Linked DNA regions of Homo sapiens: regions 2, 3, 4, 5, 6 and 7 are each linked to region 1. The links are contacts of gene promoters, found by promoter capture Hi-C in blood cells and fetal thymus (Javierre and others, 2016). All regions are on one chromosome and are shown on one strand. Each heading gives the region's core, a stretch centred on a gene start or on the middle of the fragment in contact. The rest is flanking DNA. Distances are from core to core; before and after follow the strand shown.

Region 1 (2,915 bases), core at 266-2,765:
AGTTTCTCTGGGAAGCCTTCTCCCTGAGCCTCCCATGCCCCTTCCTTCAATTGGGCTATATCCCCCCTCTCTAGACTCCTACAGAGCCTTCTCCCCCAATACAATAGAATCTTTGTGAGGTCAGATATAGTGTCTTCTCAATTGTATCCCCAGGTTTAACATATCACCTGACACACTGTAGGTGCTTAATAAGAGCTTATGGAATGAATGAAGTGCTATTGCAGAGATAAGCATAAAGCGGTATGTGAGTACAAAGGAAGGGAATCTAAATTGGAGTGGAGGTCTGGGAAAGGCCTCCTGGAAGAGGTGACACTTGAGGCTGACCTGAAGGACAAGTCGGTTAGATGTTTCAAGTGGTGAGAACGGTAGCATGAATGCTCAGCAGTGGGAACGCGGATGGTGCCTTTGAGTAATGGCCAATGACTGTATGGCTGCAGCTAGGGTCGGGGGGAATGGAATGGCAGGGAATCAAGCTAACTGACAGGTAGTTGAGGGATGGATTATGAAAAAGTGAAAGCCCGCTTTTCATTTCAGGCTTGGATTTTGTGTTTATTTACTTATTTATTTATGAGAAAGGGTCTCACTCTGTTGCCCAGGCTGGCACGATATCGGCTCACTGCAACCTCCCGAGTTCAAGTGATTCTCCCACCTCAGCCTCTCGAGTAGCTGGGATTACAGGTTTGCGCCACCACGCCCAGCTAATTTTTGTATTTGTATTTGTAATTTTTTTGAGACGGATCTCGCTCTGTCACCTAGGCTGGAGTGCAGTGGTCCAATCTCGGCTCACTGCAACCTCCGCCTCCCAGGTTCAAGCAATACTCCTGCCTCAGCCAACTGAGTAGCTGGGATTACAGGCCCCTGCCACCATGCCCGGCTAATTTTTGTATTTTTAGTAGAGACGGGGTTTCACCATGTTGGCCGGGCTGGTATCGAACTCCTGACCTCAGGTGATCCGCCGGCCTCGGCCTCCCAAAGTGCTGGGATTAAAGGGGTGAGCCACCCCGCCCGATAGGCTTGGACTTTGTTAAAGGCATACAGAATAACACGAAGTGGTGAGATGCAGAAAAAAGTAGTAATTTAAGAAAACTTGGCTTGCCACGTTGGTTCCTCTAGGGACCAGCCCTGCAACTCCGGGCAAGTCCTATCCCCTCTGACCAGAGGCAAAGTGAAACAGTGATGACATCTACCTCTAGCAGTGCTGTGACGATTAAATGCGATCTTAGGCAAAGCGCCTGGTATGTGCCGTTACTCGAAAAAATGACAGTTGTCCCTCTTCGCTCTGGCCCCATCCTCCTCATCTGCAAATGCCGGGAGGCCGGGCCACTCTCGCAGGTCGCTCCCGGAGCCAGCTGAGCAGTGGGAGGGGAAGCGGTGGGACAGAAGGGCGCCAGCCAGTCGTCCGGGCACCGTGGCTGGTTCGGCTGCCGCTCAGCCGCGCGGGGGCGCTCTAGACTGCTCCTCGTGCTCTATGGTGTTGCCTTCGCCCCGGAAGTAGTTGCGCAGCTGGGGTTGGTAAGGTCGGGCCATGGTGGGGCAGAGGTTGGGAAGATGGCGTGGCGAGGCTGGGCGCAGAGAGGCTGGGGCTGCGGCCAGGCGTGGGGTGCGTCGGTGGGCGGCCGCAGCTGCGAGGAGCTCACTGCGGTCCTAACCCCGCCGCAGCTCCTCGGACGCAGGTAATAGCCGCCGCGCTCTGGTCTTCTCGCCTCTTGGTCCCTGAGCTCTGGCCGTGTATCCTCGGGGGCGGAGGCCGTCTGGGCCTCTTGTGCTGGCCCCAGCTCACCCCCTTCACCTTACCTGCCCCTTCTCTCTCCTCTCTCGCCTCCGTCCAGTCCTCGCTTCTCGCTCCCCTTGCCCAGCCCAGCCCCCCGCGAGCCTGCGCTTTCTCCTTTCCCATTGGGAAGGACGTGACTGGAAGGGGAACTAAGCTGAGGGTTCATTGCGTGCCACACTTCATAATCGCGAGTGGAAACTGTTGAGCCAGTTTCTGAAGTGAAGAAGTTAGTACAGCTGGCAGAATGGCGGTTTTTATTCTTTTTCCATCTAATTATAAAGGTTGTGTTCCATTACAACCAGTCGCCTTCTTTAGCTTGTGATCTAAGGGAGGACGAAGTCTGATGGAAGGTATCACTTTGTGTCTGGCAAAGTCGTAGGAGAGGCTTTATTGTTGAATTGAGACAGTGGAAGATTTCGTTTCCGGTTGATTTGGAAAGAAAACTGCCGAACCTTCCGAGTAGAAGTGTGAAGCGTATGGTTGATCAGTATTGCTGATTTTTGCATCACAGTAATTCATTTCTAATTTGAGAGAGAAGAGAGAAATTCCTCACCTGTTTAAGAATCTGATGTGCATTTGGCTTTGAAAATTTTCCTCCTCTTTTGTTCAAAACTTCATTCCTTCCAATTTCTGACTTGGTTAGATGGGTGCCTCGAATCCACCTGATTGCTGATAAGAAACATTGTTTATCAACACGTGGGATAGTCAGTGGTAAATAATCGAGGCTCTAATGTGGCGGAGCCATTGCCTAATCTCAAGGATCACCTGAAGAGTTTGTATGGATTTTATGTCCCAGGCCTCACCCCAGTCCTCCCAAATCACAATCAGGAGAGGGGTGGGTGGAGTGGAAGAACCTATATGTCCGACAAGCATTCCAGGTGAATTTTATCAGGGACTTGTGAAAACTTTACATACATTGTATCTTCATACACTAACATAGATCTGTCAGGCACTAATCTTAAACTCCTGGGGAGGTGGAAAATGAGGACAGATGGAGGTGGTAATCCCATTTGAGATTGCATGGTTTAAGGGGGAAAGAAAAGATTAATACTGGCCGGGCGTGGTGGCTCACACGCCTGTAATCCTAGCACTTTGGGAGGCTGAGGCAGGTGGATCACCTGAAGTTAGGAGTTCAAGACCAGCC
Region 2 (2,915 bases), core at 166-2,665, 430 kb after region 1:
ATTAGCCAGGCATGGTGGTGCATGCCTGTAATCCCAGCTACTCGGGAGGCTGAGGCAGGAGAATTGCTTGAACTCGCGAGGCAGAGGTTGCAATGAGCCAAGATTGCACCATTGCACTCCAGCCTAGGCAACAAGAGCAAAACTCTGTCGCAAAAAAAAAAAAAAAAAAAAAAAGAGAATCACACTTTATATCTGTGGTCTTCCTCCCCAAAGCCCCAAATTCAAGTCTAATCCAGAGGAAAACATCAGTCAATTCTAACAGAAAGATATCCTACAAAATACCTGAGTAATACTCCTCCAAACTGTCAAGGTCACCAAAAATACGAAAAATCTGAGAAACTGTCACAGCCTAGAGGGGTCTAAAGAAACATGACAGCAAAATGGAATGTGGTATCCTGGATAAGATTCTGGAACAGAAAAAGCACTTTACATAAAAACTAAGAAAACCTGAATAAATTGTGGACCTTAGTTCATAATAACACATCAATGTTGGTTCATTAATTGTATCACACTGGTCGGGCGAGGTGGCTTACACCTGTAATCCCAACACTTTGGGAGGCCAAGGCAGGTGGATCATGAGGTCAGGAGTTCGAGACCAGCCTGGCCAATATGGTGAAACACTGTCTACTAAAAATACAAAAATTAGCTGGGTGTGATGGTGTGCGCCTGTAGTCCCAGGTGCTCGGGAGGCTGAGGCAGGAGGATCACTTGAACCCGGGAGGTGGAGGTTGCAGTGAGCTGAGATCATGCCACTGCACTCCAGCCTGGGTGACAGAGTAAGACTCCGTCTCAAAAAAAAAAAGAAAAGAAAAAAGAAAAAGAAAAAAATGGTATCATAATAACCATAATATAATTACACCACAAATTTACCATACTAACATAAAATGTTAATAACAGGAATAATAGGGTGCAAGGTATATGGGAACTCTTTGTACTATCTTCTCTGTAAACCTGTAACTTTTTTCTGGAAACCTAAAACCATTTTAAAAATAAAATAAAGTCTATTTTTCGAAAGTCTTAGTATCACCTCTAGATATTCATGTGTAGCAACTTGCTTCATTAGGCTATTTTCCCTCCCATATCCTAAATATCACTGGCTAAAAAAAGGCCTAGGAAAAATCAAAATAGACATTTCCTACATTATTATTCTGTGTTTAAGATGTATAAACAGGGAATAAGCTCTGCATTGACATCTCCAGGGAAGTTGTTCCGATATGTATTCACTGGTTATCATTTACCTTAAAGATAATTATCTTTCCAGTAGGAAACCATGACTTATACACAGCCTTGATCTTAATGAAGCCTATTGCTTTGTTAAAACAAGCTTTACTTCATAGCTAATACAGCAGTGAGCTCTGAAAACAGATAGCATGCAGATATCCCAAATGACAAAGATTCCCAACTAATAACACATCACTGCGGTTTTCATGTTGCACACTGCATTTAAACTTGACAACAGTGAACAGAAAAGGCATGGATCCCAGTCTACCCAGAAAGAAAGCTTCAGTTTGTCAGTCTGTTGAGATACAGTCCTATAAACCATATCTGCAACCCTAGTTTTTGTTTAATTTGAAACAAAAACTCCCTGCATACAGGGACAATAGTTAAAAAGAAGGTTCTGAATGGACAACTTTATACTAAGTCTTAAGTATGATGTTTTATATTTTTATAAAACCCGAAGTATCTGGGAAGTTAGGTCTCCCTGAGGGCAGACCTTAACTAATGACTCGGTAGAGACATAAACACACCAGCCTGCTGGTTCTCTGGTAAGGACGACTCCAGGGATTGACCATGCACACTGACTTAGAGTTAAGCAGCACTGAGCCACCTCCAGGGGAACAGGCTTAGAGCAGCTTGCTCACTGGCCTTCCTTCCCTTTCTATTCTATTTCTCTATTACCCTGTGATTTTTTCCTGGAAACTTTCTAATTATTTGCACAGGAATTCCTGTGTTAGGGTTTCCTTTGGGGCCCTAAGACACATGATATAATAAGTATTTTTAAACGGATGACTCTTATCTTTAAAAGCAGTATAACTTGCTACTTTTTTGACATATTCTTATGTAAAAGATAAAGTCACTTTGCCACTGCTGAATGTAAACAGAGAAAATTGATTTGGAAAAGTTTTAAAATTCAAATTTAAATATGAAAGATCTTCATCCTTTACCCGTGATACGTGCTACAGATATTTTCTCCCAATCCAGTTTTTTTTTTCAGTTGTCTTTTGACTTTATGATGTATTTGCCATGCTATTTGTTTTATGTGGTCAAATTTATCAACTTTTTATTTTATTGCTTATGGTTTTTTGAGTCATAGTTAGAAAGCCTTTTTCTTTTTAGTACTTGTATTGTTTCATTTTTCACATTTAGATCCCTGATCCATTTAGACTTCATTTTTGTTACGCTATAAGGTGTAGATCTAATTTTATCTTTTTCCAAATGGCCAACCAGTTGGCCCAGCTCTGTGTATTACAAAGCCCAACTCTGCTCCAATGATATGTGATAGCACCTTTATCTTTAACTTTCTACCTGCACTTGGGGTTATTTCTGGATTTTCTATTCTATTCTACTTGTCTTTTTATATTATTCACACACTAGTTCCACATCTTAATTATAGAGACTTTGTAACCTCTATAGTCATAAAACCTCTATGACTGCCTTCATAACCTGTATAATACAGTTTTAATTACAGAAACTAAAGACAAACATAACTGTAAACCAATATTGAACTCTGGCTAGTTGGTCTGTTTTTACACAGTGGTATGGGTTAGCAATTTTGAATCTACTTTTTGCACACGATTGAGCAAAAAAGTGAATATCTTGTGGATAAGGAGAGCCAGCTTTCTCACTCTCAGAAAACAGTTACAATTACAGAAAGGGCAAATCTGATTGAACCGTGAGATGCTGCACTGGAACTG
Region 3 (2,915 bases), core at 145-2,644, 430 kb before region 1:
CCGGGGACAGCCCAGGGGCCCTGTCTCAATTTGGCAGCAGGCGGCTGCACTTTGCCCTGACACAGATGGGGGTAGGAAGATCCAGAGGCTGGAGACTGCCTGGTCTCCCCCACCCCCACCCCTGCTAATTCCTCCCTAATTACCTGTGGGAGTCCGGGGGATGGGGCGGGTGGGGGGCCTGTGGACTGTGGAGCTTTGTTCATTTCATTTGGTGCCACATCAGGGTCCCCCCAGCACCTGTTGGGAAAGAGTGGCGCTCAGGAAGAGGAAGGGACCCAAGCTTAAGGCAAATGGGGCGGTGAAAGGGTTGATGCAAGGGCTGGGTCCCATACGGAGTCCCAGAGATGCCAAGAGGGTGAAGCAGAAAAGATACAGCCTGTCCCCACCAACATGCTGTCAAACCCGCATCACTTCCAACCAACCCCTGACCTACTGAAACAGACCCCTCACTCACCCCCTCGATTAAGAACAAGTCCACGGTGCGGCCTACAGGTTCTGGGCATCCGAGGGCCTGGGGTTGGGAGGTGAGGGTATCAACCTGGCTCCGCGGGGCCCCAGACCAACCAGACCGGAAATTCCAGGTCTCGCTGGCACCAGGCTCCCGGATCACGAACGGAGCTAGCTGCTTCGGCCGTGGCGTCCCCACCCCCCACCCGGGGACACCGGGTTCGGGCCTGGCCCAGGGGCACACAGGATACGCCTGCCGCCGGGGAACCCGCACTGGGCCAGAAGCTAGGCCTGCCGCCGCCCAGGAGTGTAGGCCAGGAAGGGCGGGAGTCAGGCCCTAAAAGGCCAGGCGGGCGGCGGCCGTCGAGGAGCCGGTTTCAGGCAAGTGAGGGTCGGCCCGGAGGGCGGGCGGGGCCGGGGGCTCCTCCCTGCCCGCCGCCACCGCCTCCCTCCCCTGCGCCCTCCCTGCGCAGCGCGGGCCAGTGCCAAAGAACAACGTGTCACTTCCCGGCGGCCTGGCCGCGAAGGGGGGAGGGGGCGGCGGGCCGGGAGCCGTGGTGCCTGCGCCCGTGGGCTGCCGGGCCTCCTCGGGTCAGGCCGAGGTGGCATTTCGCGGCGACGAACCCGGCGCCCTACCAGCCCGCGGGGCCCGCATAGTCCGGCCCTGCGCTCCCCACCCCCACCCAGCAGCCAGGCCCGGCCGGGCCAGGCACACGTGGGCCGGGGATCGGGACCCTGGCGGGCCGGGGCCCTGGGTCGGGCCGCGGGGCCAGGGCGCCGGGGCGGCGGCGCAGGGTGGCCGGTCCCGGCCCGGATGGCGGCGGATGCGGGGGGAGGGGGTGGGGGGGCCGGGTCGGGCCCGGACATGGCGGCTTTACCTTCAGTCTCCTTCAGTCCGCGCGGCCGAGCCCCACGCAGCCGCACAGACGTAGTCCACAACCATTTCCGGCTCCCCGCACAGATCCCGCTCGGCGGCCACCGCTTCTCCGCAGGCGCAGCCGGCGCCCCCACGTGACCGGCGCAGGGGGCGGAGCCGCGCCGGGCGATCTGCGCCGCCGAGCACATGGGATTTGCCCCCGCCCCGTCACGTGACAGCCACAGCCCGCCCCCGTGTCCCCTCCCGAACTTTGAAACTCCCAGACCGATTCCCCTCTGTGTTTCTCTCTGTTCCGCGATTCTTTAGTTCATTCATATTTTAAGCAACCATTTATTGAGTGCATGCTAAGTACAAGGCGAAGTGCTGGTTGAGGGCTGAGAAACTGAAATCAAAGTCTCGGCAAAAAAAAAAAAAAAATAAGCGGGGCGCGGTGGCTCACACCTTAATCCCAGTACTTTGGGAGGCCGAGGTGGGCGGATCACGAGGTCAAGAGATCGAGACCATCCTGGCCAACATGGTGAAACCCCGTCTTTACTAAAAATACAAAAATTAGCCGGGCGTGGTGGCGCACCCGTAGTCCCAGCTACTTGGGAGGCTGAGGCAGGAGAATTGTTTGAGCCCGGGAGGCAGAGGTTGCAGTGAGCGGAGATTGTGCCACTGCACTCTAGCCTAGCCTGGCGACAGGGCGAGACTCCATCTCAAAAAAAAAAAAGAAAGAAATTAAAGACTCCGTCCTGCCTAAGTAAATCGTGATACAATACGAATTATGCAGGCTTTGAAAATAATTTAGATTAGGTCATTGAAAGGCCAATAACAAAGGAAATTAAAAGGATAGAAACATTCTAATTAGGCAAGTAGTATGAGATTTGTAGTTTAAAAAGATCATGGGCCGGGCGCAGTGGCTCACGCCTGTAATCCCAGCACTTTGGGAGGCCGAGGCGGGCGGATCACGGGGTCAGGAGATCTAGACCATCCTGGCCAACATGGTGAAACCCCGTCTCTACTAAAATACAAAAAATTAGCTGGGCCTGGTGGCGCACGCCTGTAGTCCTAGCTACTCGGTAGGCAGAGGCAGAGAATTGCTTGAACCCGGGAGGCGGAGGTTGCAGTGAGCCGAAATTACGCCACTGCACTCTAGCCTGGCGACAGGGTGAGACTCCATCTCAAAAAAAAAAAAAAAGAAAGAAAAAAAGAAATTAAAGACTCAGTCCTGCCTAAGTAAATCGTGATACAACACGAATTATGCAGGCTTTGAAAAGAATTTAGATTAGGTCCTTGAAAGGCCTATAACAAAGGAAATTAAAAGGATAGAAACATTCTAACTAGGCAAGTAGTATGAGATTTGTCGTTTAAAAAGTTAGAAACATTCTAACTAGGCAAGTAGTATGAGATTTGTCGTTTAAAAGGATCATGGGCCGGGCGCGGTGGTTCACGCCTGTAATCCCAGCACTTTGGAAGGCCGAGGCGGGCGGATCACGGGGTCAGGGCGGATCACGGGGTCACCATCCTGGCCAACATGGTGAAACCCCCATCTCTACTAAAATACAAAAAATTAGACGGGTCTGGTGGCGTGCGCCTGTAGTCCCAGCCA
Region 4 (2,915 bases), core at 232-2,731, 410 kb after region 1:
GAGGCTTTATATAAAGAGTCTCTTTCATTTTGTTTAAAAGCTGTCATTTTGTTGCATAGATATTTTGTAGGTAAGAGCTCTGATAGAAGAATTTCAAAGTGTCTAAGTTGGCCAAGTGAAGATTCTGGCCAAGAGACTGAGTCTAGGGAAGCTAGTCCCAGCAAGAGACCTCTTTTGGGTGCCAGAGTTTCCATCTCTGGTAGTGAGAGCTAATGTGACCATCATATACTTCTTATGCAAGGAAGCAGGAAACATCTGGGTGAATGAATCAACACGGAGCATGGTCCAGAAAGGAAAAGCAGGAGCTGGGGGAACCCATGATGAAAATAGCCAGAGGTAGAAGGGTTTGTCTTCTCCTTTCCAGCCTGAGCAGGTTGCCATATAACTCAGCACCAGGGCCCATTTTTTCATCTACTGGGCACCAGGCATGATGCTTGGTGCCTTACCTATCACTTAATCCTCATTTACTTACTGTCCCTTGATGTGGGTACCTTGAAGATGGTAAGATGCACAAGGCAATTGCATTGAGCCACTAGGATTATTTAGTCAGCCTTATCTCTGTAGCCAACATTCTGCCAAGGGAAGGGGGCACTAACACAGAAATATAAGCCATAGTCCTAGCCTATATAGGACTTGCTATAATACTTCCATTGCTGAATTATTTTTTATTTTATTTATTTATTCTTTTGAGACTGACTTTTGCTCTTGTCACCCAGGCTGGAGTGCAATGGCATGATCTCTGCTCACTGCAACCTCCACATCCCGGGTTCAAGCGATTCTCCAGCCTCAGCCTCCCAAGTAGCTGGGATTACAGGTGCCTGCCACTATGCCCGGCTAATTTTTGTATTTTTAGTAGAGAAGGGGTTTCACCATGTTGGCCAGGCTGGTCTTGAACTCCTGACCTCAGGTGATCCACCTGCCTTGGGCTCCCGAAGTGCTGAGATTACAGGGGTCAGCCACCGCACCCAGCTCCATTGCTGAATTATACAAACTGGTTTCAAAAAGAAAAATAATTTGTCCAGCACGAATATCCAAACTTTGGAGCTTGTTTCTGGCCAATAAGGATCTAAATGGAATCCAAATGTCTTTTTATCATGCATCGGATTCAATAGAGAAAAGTCTTTGGACACACGGAGGGAAAAAACTTTACTCTGGTTGAAAGTATTCCGCTTTGATTTAGTTATATCCTGTGATTTAGCTAAGCCATGAACTAATTGAGCACACACAACTGGGAGAATAATTAAGTATTAGGAGAGAATTTCCCCTTGGTGTTTTATTTGTGAATTCATACACTCAATTCCAACTACTTCCTCTTCCAAAACCAGGTTAAAGTTGGACCTCATGATCCTTTAAAAACATAAATCAGATCACAGCATTTCTCTGCTCAAAACCCTCTAATCACAACCATTTCACTTAAAGCAAAGGTTCTCAAAAGGTCTACAGAGTTGTACATGGCCTAGTTTTTCATGATTTATTTCCCTAAGTTTGTCTGGTTTCTTCTGTCTTTTTTTCTTTTTCATTTCATTCTTCCTTTCTTTTTTAACACATCATTTCTACAAATAAGAAAAGATTGCCCTCTGCAGCACTCTCAATCGTCCTTCCCTCTTTCTATTTGCTACTTCAGGGGTCAGAAAATACAGCCTGTGGACCAAATGTCTGTTTTGTGTGGTCCACAGCTAAGAATGGTATTTACTGGTTTTTTGTTTGTTTGTTTGTTTGTTTGAGACGGAGTCTCACTCTGTTACCCAGGCTGGAGTGCAGTGGAGTAATCTCGGCTCACTGCAACCTCCACCTCCTAGGTTAAAGCGATTCTCCTGCCTCAGCCTCCCTAGTAGCTGGGATTACAGGTGCCCGACACCAAGCCCGGCAAATTTTTGTATTTTTAGTAGAAATGGGATTTCGCCATGTTGGCCAGTCTGGACTCAAACTCCTGACCTCAGGGTTCTGCCTGCCTCAGCCTCCTAAAGTGCTGGGGTTACAGGTGTGAGCTACCACGCCCTGCCTACATTTTTAAATGGTTGAAAAAATCAGAAGACAAATACTTTTTCATTGATGCATGAAATTATATAAAATTGAAATCTCAGTGTCTATAAATTGTATTGGAACACACCCACGCCCATTTGTTTTCTTACTGTCTATGACTGCTTTTGTGCTACAAGAGCAGAATTGAAGGCTGGGCATGGTGGCTCACGCCTGTAATCCCAGGCGTTGGATTTGGGAGGCCGAGGCGGGTGGATCACCTGAAGTCAGGAGTTCAAGACCAGCCTGGCCAACATGGTGAAACCCCTTCTCTACTAAAAATACAAAAATTAGCCAGGCATGATGGTGGTGCCTGTAATCCAAGCTACTTGGGAGGCTGAGGCAGGAGAATTGCTTGAACCCAGGGGGTGAAAGTTGCAGTCAGCCGAGATCGCGCCACTGCACTCCAGCCTGGGCAACAAGAGCGAAACTCCATTAAAAAAAAATGAGAACAAGGGCTAGCAAAACGCAGGAGGTAGCAAAACACAAATGATTCCAAACCTCAGACAGTGAAGCAAATGCTCTTCTTTCTTGGATTGCTTCTCTTGACCCCACCCACCTGTTCCCCTGCCCTTTCCTTCTGATGGGAACTTGGGATGATCCGTGCTGCATGGGGGAGGAAGGGCAGGTGAGGAGGGACGGGACCTGGGCTGACCAGCTAGCTGTTCTGAGCTGCCATGGGGTCTGTCTGGAATTTATAGACATTAGGTGTTAACCTGGTATCTCTGTGCCTCAGTTTCTTCTTCTGCAAAATGGGGAGCTCATCACCCCCTCATAGGTTGTGAGGCTTAAAGAGCTACTATATATGTTAAGCATTCATAACAGTGCCTGTTGTATAATAAACACACATGTGTGAGGCTGTTCTTGAATTGCTATAAAGAAATAGGTGAGACTGG
Region 5 (2,915 bases), core at 253-2,752, 380 kb before region 1:
TATCACTGGTTTTAAGCCCTTAAAAAATATATATTAAGGCTGGTCTCAGTGGCTCATGCCTGTAATCCTAGCATTTTGGGAGGCCAAGACTGGAGGTTTGCTTGAGCCCAGGAGTTTAGGACCAGCCTCGGCAACATGGTGAAACCCCGTCTCTACTAAAAATACACAAAGATTAGCCAGATGTGGTAGAGGATCACCTAAGCCATGGAAGTTGAGGCTGTGGTGAACCAAGATCATGCTACTGCACTCCAACTTGGGTGATGGAACTGAGACGTTGTCTCAAAAATAATAATAATAATAAAGAAAATTAAATAATAAAATGTAAAATATATTTAAACGTTTTTATTGCAAATGTAATATACTCCAGAATTATATTGAATAAAAGATGAAATTCATTCTGTTGGGATCCTGGTACCATCCTCAGAGATAACTATCATTTGCGTTTTGGTATGTATCTTTCCAAATCTTTCTTTCTTTCTTTCTTTCTTTTTTTTTTTGAGACATGTTCTCACTCTGTCACCCAGGCTAGAGTGCAGTGGCACAATCTCAGCTCACTGCAACGTCTACCTCCTGGGCTTAAGCAATCCTCCTGCCTCCTGAGCATCTGAAAATATATGTGCTCACCACCATGCTTGGCTAATTTTTGTATTTTTAATAAAGATGGGGTTTTGCCATGTTGCCCAGGCTGGTCTCAAACTCCTGAGCCCAAGCAATCTACCTGCCTCAGCCTCCCAAAGTGCTGGGATTAAAGGTGTGAGCTACTGAGCCTGCCCAGATCTTTCTTTTATGTGCATTTATGTTCCTACATATACTGTATGTATATATGTGAATGTAAGTGTGTATACATATGTGTGTATGTGTACTTTTCCCACATATGTAAAATTCTACTCTAAACTTGTTATTTGATGACATTTTGGCAGGTCTTGAGGATTTTACCATGTCTGTTCACATAGATCTTTCTCATTCTTTTTTTTGTAATTGATATAGTTTGGCTGTGTCCCCACCCAAATCTCATCTTGACTTCCCATGTGTTGTGGGAGGGACCTGGTGGGAGGTGATTGAATCATGGGGGCAGGTCTTTCCTGTGCTGTTCTTGTGATAGTGGGTGGGTCTCATGAGATCTGATGGTTCTATAAGAGAAAATTTCCCTGCACAAGCTCTCTCACTTTGCCTGCTGCCATCCGTGTAAGACATGACTTGCTCCTCCTTGCCCTCTGCCATGATTGTGAGGCCTCCCCAGTCATGTGGAACTGTAAGTCCATTAAACTCTTTTTCCTGTATAGATTATCCAGTCTCAGGTATGTATTTATCAGCAGTGTGAAAACAGACTGATACAGTAATTTATCAGTTTCTTTTAAATAGAATGGGCCCTAGAAATACCCTCATGGTGTGGGCTTCCATCAGGTGGATAGGGTAGGATCAAAAGGCCCAGAGAAAGTCTAAGGAAGGAGAAACATGATCATGAGATATGATAGTAAAAATACTACCCCCCCAAAAAATATATACATATGTATTTTTTTTTTTTTTTTTGAGATGGAATCTCACTCTGTCACCCAGGCTGGAGTGCAGTGGCGCAATCTCAGCTCACTGCAAGCTCTGCCTCCCAAGTTCACACCATTCTCCTGCCTCAGCCTCCCAAGTAGCTGGGACTACAGGCGCCCGCCACCACGCCCGGCTAATTTTTTGTATTTTTAGTGGAGACGGGATTTCACCGTGTTAGCCAGGATGGTCTCAATCTCCTGACCTCATGATCCGCCCGCCTCGGCCTCCCAAAGTGCTGGGATTACAGGTGTAAGCCACCACACCCGGCCTATATTTTTTGAGATGGAGTCTTGTTTTGCCACCCAGGCTGGAGTGCAGTGGCCAATCTTGGCTCACTGCTACCTCTGCCTCCCGGGTTCAAGCAATCCTCCTGCCTCAGCCTCCCCAGTAGCTAGGATTACAGGCGCCCACCACCATGCCCAGCTAATTTTTGTACTTTTAGTAGAGATGGGGTTTTGCCATGTTGGCCAGGCTGGTCTTGAACTCCTGACCTCAGGTGATCCACCCGCCTCAGCCTCCCAGAGTGCTGGGATTACAAGTGTGAGCCACCACACCCAGCTTACCCCAAAATATTTCTAACAGCTTGTATTTGTTTCTTAGGGCCGCTGTAACAAGGTACCACAAACTGAGGGCTTAAAACAACAGAAACTTATTCTCTCACAGTTTTGGAGGCCAGAAGTCCAAAATCAAGGTGTTGGTAGGGTTAAGCTCCTTTGGAAGACTCTAGTAAAGAATTCTTCCTTGCCTCTTTCAGCTGCTGGTGGCTCCCAACAATTCTTGGTTTTCCTTACCTTGTAGTTCCCTCACTCCTATCTCTGCGTCTTTCATGTGGCCTTTTTCCCTGTGTGTCTGTTCTCTTCTTATAAACACATTGGTGATGGGATTTAGGGCCCACCATAATCCAGTATAACCCCATCTTAATTTATTTTTTATTTTTTTCTTTCTATATAAGACAGGGTCTCCCTATGTTGCCCAGGCTGGTCTTCAACTCCTGGGCTCATGGGATCTTCCTGCCTTGGCCTCCCAAAGTGCTAGGATTACAGGCATGAGCCACCACACCCGGCCTATATTTTTTTATTTTATTTTATTTTATTTTTTGAGACAGGATCTCACTCTGTCACAGAGGCTGGAGTGCAGTGGCACAATCTGGGCTATTTTTAGTAGAGATGGGGTTTCTCCATCTTGGCCAGGCTGGTCTTGAACTCCTGACCTCAGGTGATCCACCCGCCTGGGCCTCCCAAAGTGCTGGGATTACAGGCATTAGCCACCTAGCCTGACTGTACCTTATCTTAACTAATTGTATCTGCAAAAGCCCTATTTCCAAATAAGGTCACACTTTTTTTTTTTTTAGACAGGGTCTTGCTCTGCCACCC
Region 6 (2,915 bases), core at 247-2,746, 340 kb before region 1:
CAGGTCAGGTGCCCAGCCCACGACTGCTAAATACCAGGATGAGCCAATGAATGCACAAGGCAGTGCCCGGAGGAAGGCGGGGGACGGGCGGAGGCCGAGCGGATGCGGGAGCCTGAGCTGCGCCCGGCTTTCAGGAGCGCGGGTGCGGGCGCGCGGAACTCACCCTGCGCGCAGCGGCGGGGCGTCGGGGTCCCCAGCCCCGGGCCCAGAGCGCGGCAGCAGGCGGCCTGCGAGCGGCGCCGGCTCTGCAGCTGGAAGGAGACGCGCCGTCCGGCGGCCTCGGCCTCGAAGCCGGACACCACCTCGGCCTCGGCCAGCGGGTACACGAACACGCCTGGGGAGGGCGGCGGGAGGCGGCGTCGGACCCTGCCCGGCGCACCCCCCGCCGCGCCCGCGCCCCACCCGGGCCTCACCGTCCACCGGCTGCGGCTGCGGGTTGCGGTAGGTGAGCCGGGCCCGCACGCTGAGGCAGGGGCCGTTGGCGCAGGCCCGGACCCAGGAGTCCGTGAGCGGCAGCGGCGTCCAGCTGGAGGGGCAGTACAGGCCGGGCATGGCGCCGGGAGGCCGGCCCTGCGGGAACGGGCCGGGGAAGCTGGGCGCAGGGTGACGGGACGCCCACCCCGCGCTCCAGAGGCCAGCGCGAGAGTCTCACTCCAGCACCCGGACGGGGCCTGCCGGGGCGCGAGGCCGAGCGGGAGCTCCTGAGGGCGACAGGTGGCGGGGGAGATAAGGGGGCGGCAGGCGTGGTGGCGAGGAGGGCATCCTCACGCGTTACCTGGGCAGCCGGGCCGCGGAGGGTTAATGATTAACGCGCGCTTCGGCGCCCAGCAGTCCCGCCGCGGCTCCCCCGGGGGTGGGGGCGGTCACAGCTGTTCCACCGCCCACTCCCAACCTCGCAGCCACCCCCGTACCTGCCGGCCCCCCGGGGCCCCCCGCGGCCGCCAGCTGTCGGAAGCGGCGCGGGTGGAGATGGAAGATGCTCCGGGAAGGCGGAGGTTTAAAGGGCCCGAATCCCCCCGGAGGCCCCCGGCCCTGCGAGGGATCGCGGGGGCAGGGTGGATGGGGCGCCGAAAGGGCCTTGGTCTTTCTCTCCCTGGTGCCTCATCCGACGGGGGTGCTGGCCGGAGTGGAGGGGTTAAGGGTGGGAAGAACGAGCTGGGAAAGCGAAAAGAGGGGGTCTTTGGGAGGCAAGCCCGGGAGAGGTGTCGGGCCAGGGAGAGTCCGTGGGAGCCGCCAGGTTACCGCTCCCTACCCCGGCAGAGCTGATGTGGGAGGAGGGGGCACCTGCAGTGGCCGCGGCCCGCGCAGGGGATGCCGCGGGCTGGCTCTGGGGATCGCCCCGCTCCCTGTGGCAGTCTCAGCCTCACCGTCGCGCCCTCCGCGGAGTTCTAGGTGCCCACGGGATCCGTGTGGGTGGTGCCGCCTCTGCGCTCCGGGTGGCCCTCGGTCCCGGCACCTGCCGGCCGCCAGTTCGTGACTGTGGCTGCAGCGGCTCTGAGTCCCGGCAGGGGCGCGGGCCCTGCCGGCGGTGGTCCCGCCCCCGTTCCGAGAGGCCGCCCCTCCAGCCTGCCCTGGCCACGCCTGCTGCTGCTGCGGCGGGGCTGGCGCTCCCCCCTCCTTCGGGCGCGGTACCGCCTCCGCGCCAGCCGCGGCAGCCCGAGCCAGACTGGGCACCGCAGTGCAGGGACCGCGTCCCCGCCGCCGCACGGATCCCCGTCACTGCAGGACCGAGGCCTCAGAGACCCCACCCTTTCCATTCTTCAGGAATCAGGCGTCCTGCAAGTGCCACCGACACTGCCGCGACCCCAGCTATCCCATTACCACGACGGCATCCCATTCCCCAGCCCACCCCACCCCCTGCCCTGGGTTGCTTCCCATCGCTGCAGAGACCCTCCCTCCTGACTGCAGCGAACCCCCCAGCCCCCCATCACCGTCACCGCAGGACTCTTCCCCCAAGAAGCTGGCCCCTTTCCTTTGCAAAGTGCTCTTCATCACTGCAGAAAACCTCCCCCATCCCTGCAGGTACTTTTAGTTCATGCAGCCACTTCAGTGACCACTCACTCCAAGCAGGGATTCCTCATCACTGCAGCGACCTCCTCCCACCCCCAAGCAGCCGGCCTTGGCATCGCTGCAGTGCCAACCACTTCTGCTGGGGTGGGAGGGTGTGCACAATAGCGCCCTCAGCCTATAACCCCTTGGTCTCTTCAGCTGTGCGGGCCTTGGGAGTGAAGCCTTCTAGCCTGAAGAGCCTTCTTATGGCTGCAGACCGTCCCCTCATAGCAGTGACCCCCACCCATCACCGCAGCCCTGAAGAGAAAACATCTCTGCTTGTCAGGAGGGCCCCTTGTTATTGGCAGACTTTGCATGTGCTTGACAGTGTTATGCTGTCAAAAAGTAGGAAGGTCCGGAAAACCTCTCCCAGGTCCCCCAAGGAAGAGTCTGAGAGCCCTGGGGAAGTGAGAGGAGATGACCATGTTTGGGGATCATCCATGTAAGCTTTTTGGCAGATGCCATACTGAGATTCTGCAGAGAGAGCTTGAGGAGAGCTGGGGATGGAGGACAGCCAGTAGGAAGTGAGCTTTCGAGTCGGGCCCATGGTTCTCACTCCTCCGCATTAACTCTCTCCTTCTGATTTCAATCACTATCACCAGGGATCATCCCCCCGGGGGATCCCTGCCTCCTTGAGTATCTGAGCCCTCAACCCCAACCATCTCCTTTGCTCACCCTACTTAGCATGGTGGAGAGAGCTTGACCTTTTCCCAGGGAATTTCATGGGTGGAAATGCACAGGAATGATACAGGGAGCACAGACACAGTCACACGTACCCAACACACAGGGAGCTCCAGCTGGGTCCTAGCCCTCTTTCCATACTACCTGGGTCATGGTTCCATTCACCTCTCTCCCCCTTTCTCTAC
Region 7 (2,915 bases), core at 305-2,804, 340 kb after region 1:
TTTCTGGATCACTTATTCAGTAGATGTGGACTTCTAGAACAGTCTCTAGCTTTCTCATCTTCTCTCTCCTGTTGTCCATCCTCTTATCTTTCTGTTTTACTTTCTGGAAGATTTTTCTCAATTTTATCTTCCAACCTGTTGAGAATCTCAGTTTTTAACTTCCAAGACTTTTTTCTTGTTTTATGTATGAAGCTTCCTTTTTATAACATCCTGTTCTTGTTTTGTATAGGTCATATTTTCACTTAATCTCTTTGAGGTTTATATTTTTTAAAAAACCACTCTTCTGTTTTTGTTTGTTTTTTACTGTTTGTTTTCACTGTATTTTTCTCTTTGTTTTTGTCTCTTTTATTCTATTTTATGTATGTATTTATTTATTTCCTAGAGACAAGGTCTCCCTATGTTGCCCAGATAGTTTCAAACTCCTGGGCTCAAGGGATCCTCCTGACCCGGCCTCCCAAAGTGCTAGGATTACAAGCATGAGCCACCACACCTGGCCTCTGTCTTTTATTTTAGAGGCTATACTTAAATATCTGGTAGTCTTTGGATATCTGTTCCTATTTAAGAGTCAAGCACTAACATGGTGAAACCCCATCTCTACTAAAAATACAAAAAATTAGCTGGGCGTGGTGGCACATGCCTGTAGTCCCAGCTACTCGGGAGGCTGAAGCAGGAGAATTGCTTGAATCTGGGAGGCGGAGGTTGCAGTGAGCCAAGATCATGCCACTGCACTCCAGCCGGGGCAACAGAGCAAGACTCAGGTGTCCCGACCTGACGAGTGCCATTCAAGTTGGATTTAGCCATGAAATAAGTTACAAAAAACTTTACATTTATCAGCACTTTGGGAATTTTGAAACTACAGATAAGGGATTATAGATATATAATGCTGAAATATTTACTATCATATTGGTTCTGATCCACAATATTGGAAAATATTAAAAGTGGAAAATATAGGGCCTGACCCTGGTGTTACAATCATTGGCTTCACTTGAGTTCTCAAGTGTACCCACTGTGGCAGCAGCAATCCTCAACACATTTGCTGTTAGCCAGATTTTTAATACAGACCTACATGGCCTTAACTCATTCTTGTTTTTCTTGGCACTTATTCTCTTTTTTAAAATTTGTTTAAATTTTACTTTAAGTTCTGGGATACATGTGCAGAATGCGCGGGTTTGTTACATAGGTATACACGTGCCATGGTGGTTTGCTGCACCTATCAACCCATCATCTAGGTTTTAGGCCCTGAATGCATTAAGTATTTTTCCTAATGCTCTCCCTCCCCTTGTCCCCCACCCGCCGACAGGCCACGGGTTGTGTTGTTCCCCTACCTGTGTCCATGTGTTCTCATTGTTCAACTCCCACTTATGAGTGAGAACATGCGGTGTTTGGTTTTCTGTTGCTGTGTTAGTTTGCTGAGAATGATGGTTTCCAGCTTCATCCATGTCCCTGCAAAGGACATGAACTCATTCCTTTTTATGGCTGCACAGTATTCCATGGTGTATATGTTCTTGGCACTTATTCTATCACCTGGGCTTTCTGACTCTTTTCTGACATCTTACCCCATTATGGAGACAAAGCTCAGGATTACAACATCTACATGTGGCTTAAGAGTAGTCTCTTGCCCCACTTTTCTGCCATGCAGTAATTGGTTAATATGTAATAATGATTAACAAGTGCATAGATTGTGCTCACAATAACCTTCCCATTCCTGGCCTTATGCCTGATTTTTGTAGCTGGCGGGTAAAGTCCTCTCAACATAGCCTCAAGGAACCAGACCTAGAGACTGCGGTACAAGACAGGAGTGAGACAGGAATCCAGACAAGGATTCCAGGCAGCAGCATCAACAAAGGAGATTGCTAATGACTCAGCCTCAGCCTGGAAGCTTTTCTATGCATGAAGGAAGGGCCAGTCATGAGACAGGGCAGAGAAAAGCCTGATAACCCCTCCCCTCATCACTAGGACTCCCCTCCCTCTGCCAACCCTGGGAATCACAGCAGGGCTGCCCTCACAGGTCACTGTCACTTACAGAGTGTGCCATATTTTGCAGTGAGCTGGGCTTCCCAAATGGTGAGAACCAGTTTCTGGTTCTAGCCACAGTGAGGTCCCATATATTTTCAGAGCGCACTGTCTTTTCACCTTGCACACCCTGACCCTGCTTCCTTGTCTCTTTTTTAACCCTTTGATCCAGACTGATGTCCTAAGGCATGCTGGGTCCTTGCTGCTATGGGGGTCTGTCAGCTCAGCCCCCAGACATAAACTGGAATGAATGTTCCAACAGTATCCTGCCTGTGCATGTGTGTATGAGCACAAGGAGGCTCTGATTTTTACATTTCCTCCTCATTTTCAGCTTATGTAGCCTACACTAGCAAAAGAGTCTTGGGGAGCTGAGGGGTCATAGGAAATGACCTGTTAGCCACATTTCTGTTCTCTGTGAAGAGGCCTGTTTTCAGTTTAGACATCATGGGGAAACCACTCTTCCCATCAAAGTGAGCTCCCCCAAGGATGAAATGGACACCATGCTATCTACTTGATATTATGAAGACTGAATGAAATAAAAAGAATCCAGCAAAGTGCCTGAAAAAATGTAGGCCGTCCATATTCCAAACTGGGAAAAAATGCTTAATGCAAAGATTACCACGTCACGTATAAAAACAAAATACTGGAAGCAACCTAAATGTCCACAGTGAGAGAATGATTTTCATATTATGCCTCTGTTGAAATTGGTAGCAATATAATAAATAGTCATTATGAAAAGCATGGAGCACCGTAGGAAAAATATTATAATGAAAACAGGGGGCAAAGCAAGATGCAAAATTGCATGTAAACTATGGAAAGATATGCATGTGAGAAAAGGTAGACAAATAACACCAAAATGAAAACTGTTAACATTATCAGAAAGCCCCATAATCCCTTACCCA

Evidence for each region. Contacts are between HindIII fragments. The CHiCAGO score rates a contact against its expected background, and 5 or more counts as called.
Region 2: a contact is called between a fragment that was not itself captured here and the fragment with the promoter of PARL in region 1, in 4 of 17 cell types (fetal thymus, megakaryocytes, total CD8 T cells and 1 more). The highest score is 11.8, in fetal thymus.
Region 3: the fragment with the promoter of EIF4G1 here is called in contact with the fragment with the promoter of PARL in region 1 in 4 of 17 cell types (megakaryocytes, M1 macrophages, M0 macrophages and 1 more); the score reaches 6.7 in megakaryocytes.
Region 4: a contact is called between a fragment that was not itself captured here and the fragment with the promoter of PARL in region 1, in 4 of 17 cell types (fetal thymus, erythroblasts, neutrophils and 1 more). The highest score is 7.7, in fetal thymus.
Region 5: a fragment that was not itself captured here is called in contact with the fragment with the promoter of PARL in region 1 in 4 of 17 cell types (endothelial precursors, M2 macrophages, M1 macrophages and 1 more); the score reaches 7.6 in endothelial precursors.
Region 6: the fragment with the promoter of VWA5B2 here is called in contact with the fragment with the promoter of PARL in region 1 in 7 of 17 cell types (M2 macrophages, megakaryocytes, erythroblasts and 4 more); the score reaches 10.2 in M2 macrophages.
Region 7: a contact is called between the fragment with the promoter of KLHL6-AS1 here and the fragment with the promoter of PARL in region 1, in 8 of 17 cell types (erythroblasts, M2 macrophages, M1 macrophages and 5 more). The highest score is 11.9, in erythroblasts.

What each region holds. Positions count from the first base shown.
Region 1 is chr3:183,883,480-183,886,394 of GRCh38, reverse strand. It overlaps PARL (presenilin associated rhomboid like), which reads left to right and starts at 1,515. Exons shown (of 10, transcript NM_018622.7): 1 at 1,515-1,673. The coding sequence starts at 1,549. RefSeq lists enhancers at 1,066-1,295, 1,336-1,385 and silencers at 1,335-1,485, 1,596-1,755. The HindIII fragment of the contact is 9,960 bases long and covers 1-2,915 here.
Region 2 is chr3:183,448,490-183,451,404 of GRCh38, reverse strand. The region is part of intron 1 of SNHG33 (small nucleolar RNA host gene 33); the gene reads right to left. Among named protein-coding and RNA genes, the nearest start is that of SNORA63D, 1.9 kb to the left of the region's middle. The HindIII fragment of the contact is 177 bases long and covers 1,327-1,503 here.
Region 3 is chr3:184,313,085-184,315,999 of GRCh38, reverse strand. It overlaps EIF4G1 (eukaryotic translation initiation factor 4 gamma 1), which reads right to left and starts at 1,394. Exons shown (of 33, transcript NM_198241.3): 1 at 1,326-1,394; 2 at 455-511; 3 at 144-237. The coding sequence starts at 203. RefSeq lists enhancers at 125-746, 1,471-1,971 and silencers at 584-1,293, 1,314-1,643. The HindIII fragment of the contact is 4,143 bases long and covers 283-2,915 here.
Region 4 is chr3:183,472,560-183,475,474 of GRCh38, reverse strand. No RefSeq gene overlaps it. Among named protein-coding and RNA genes, the nearest start is that of SNORA63E, 20 kb to the right of the region's middle. The HindIII fragment of the contact is 3,065 bases long and covers 1-2,915 here.
Region 5 is chr3:184,265,704-184,268,618 of GRCh38, reverse strand. The region is part of intron 2 of EEF1AKMT4-ECE2 (EEF1AKMT4-ECE2 readthrough); the gene reads right to left. Among named protein-coding and RNA genes, the nearest start is that of CAMK2N2, 5.6 kb to the right of the region's middle. The HindIII fragment of the contact is 3,781 bases long and covers 1-2,915 here.
Region 6 is chr3:184,228,166-184,231,080 of GRCh38, reverse strand. It overlaps VWA5B2 (von Willebrand factor A domain containing 5B2), which reads right to left and starts at 1,496. Exons shown (of 20, transcript NM_001390846.1): 1 at 1,368-1,496; 2 at 414-701; 3 at 164-334. The coding sequence starts at 552. RefSeq lists a silencer at 1,389-1,728. The HindIII fragment of the contact is 8,832 bases long and covers 1-2,498 here.
Region 7 is chr3:183,547,374-183,550,288 of GRCh38, reverse strand. KLHL6-AS1 (KLHL6 antisense RNA 1) reads right to left here and starts at 1,554. Exons shown (of 2, transcript NR_046687.1): 1 at 1,326-1,554. The region is part of intron 1 of KLHL6 (kelch like family member 6); the gene reads left to right. The HindIII fragment of the contact is 1,687 bases long and covers 195-1,881 here.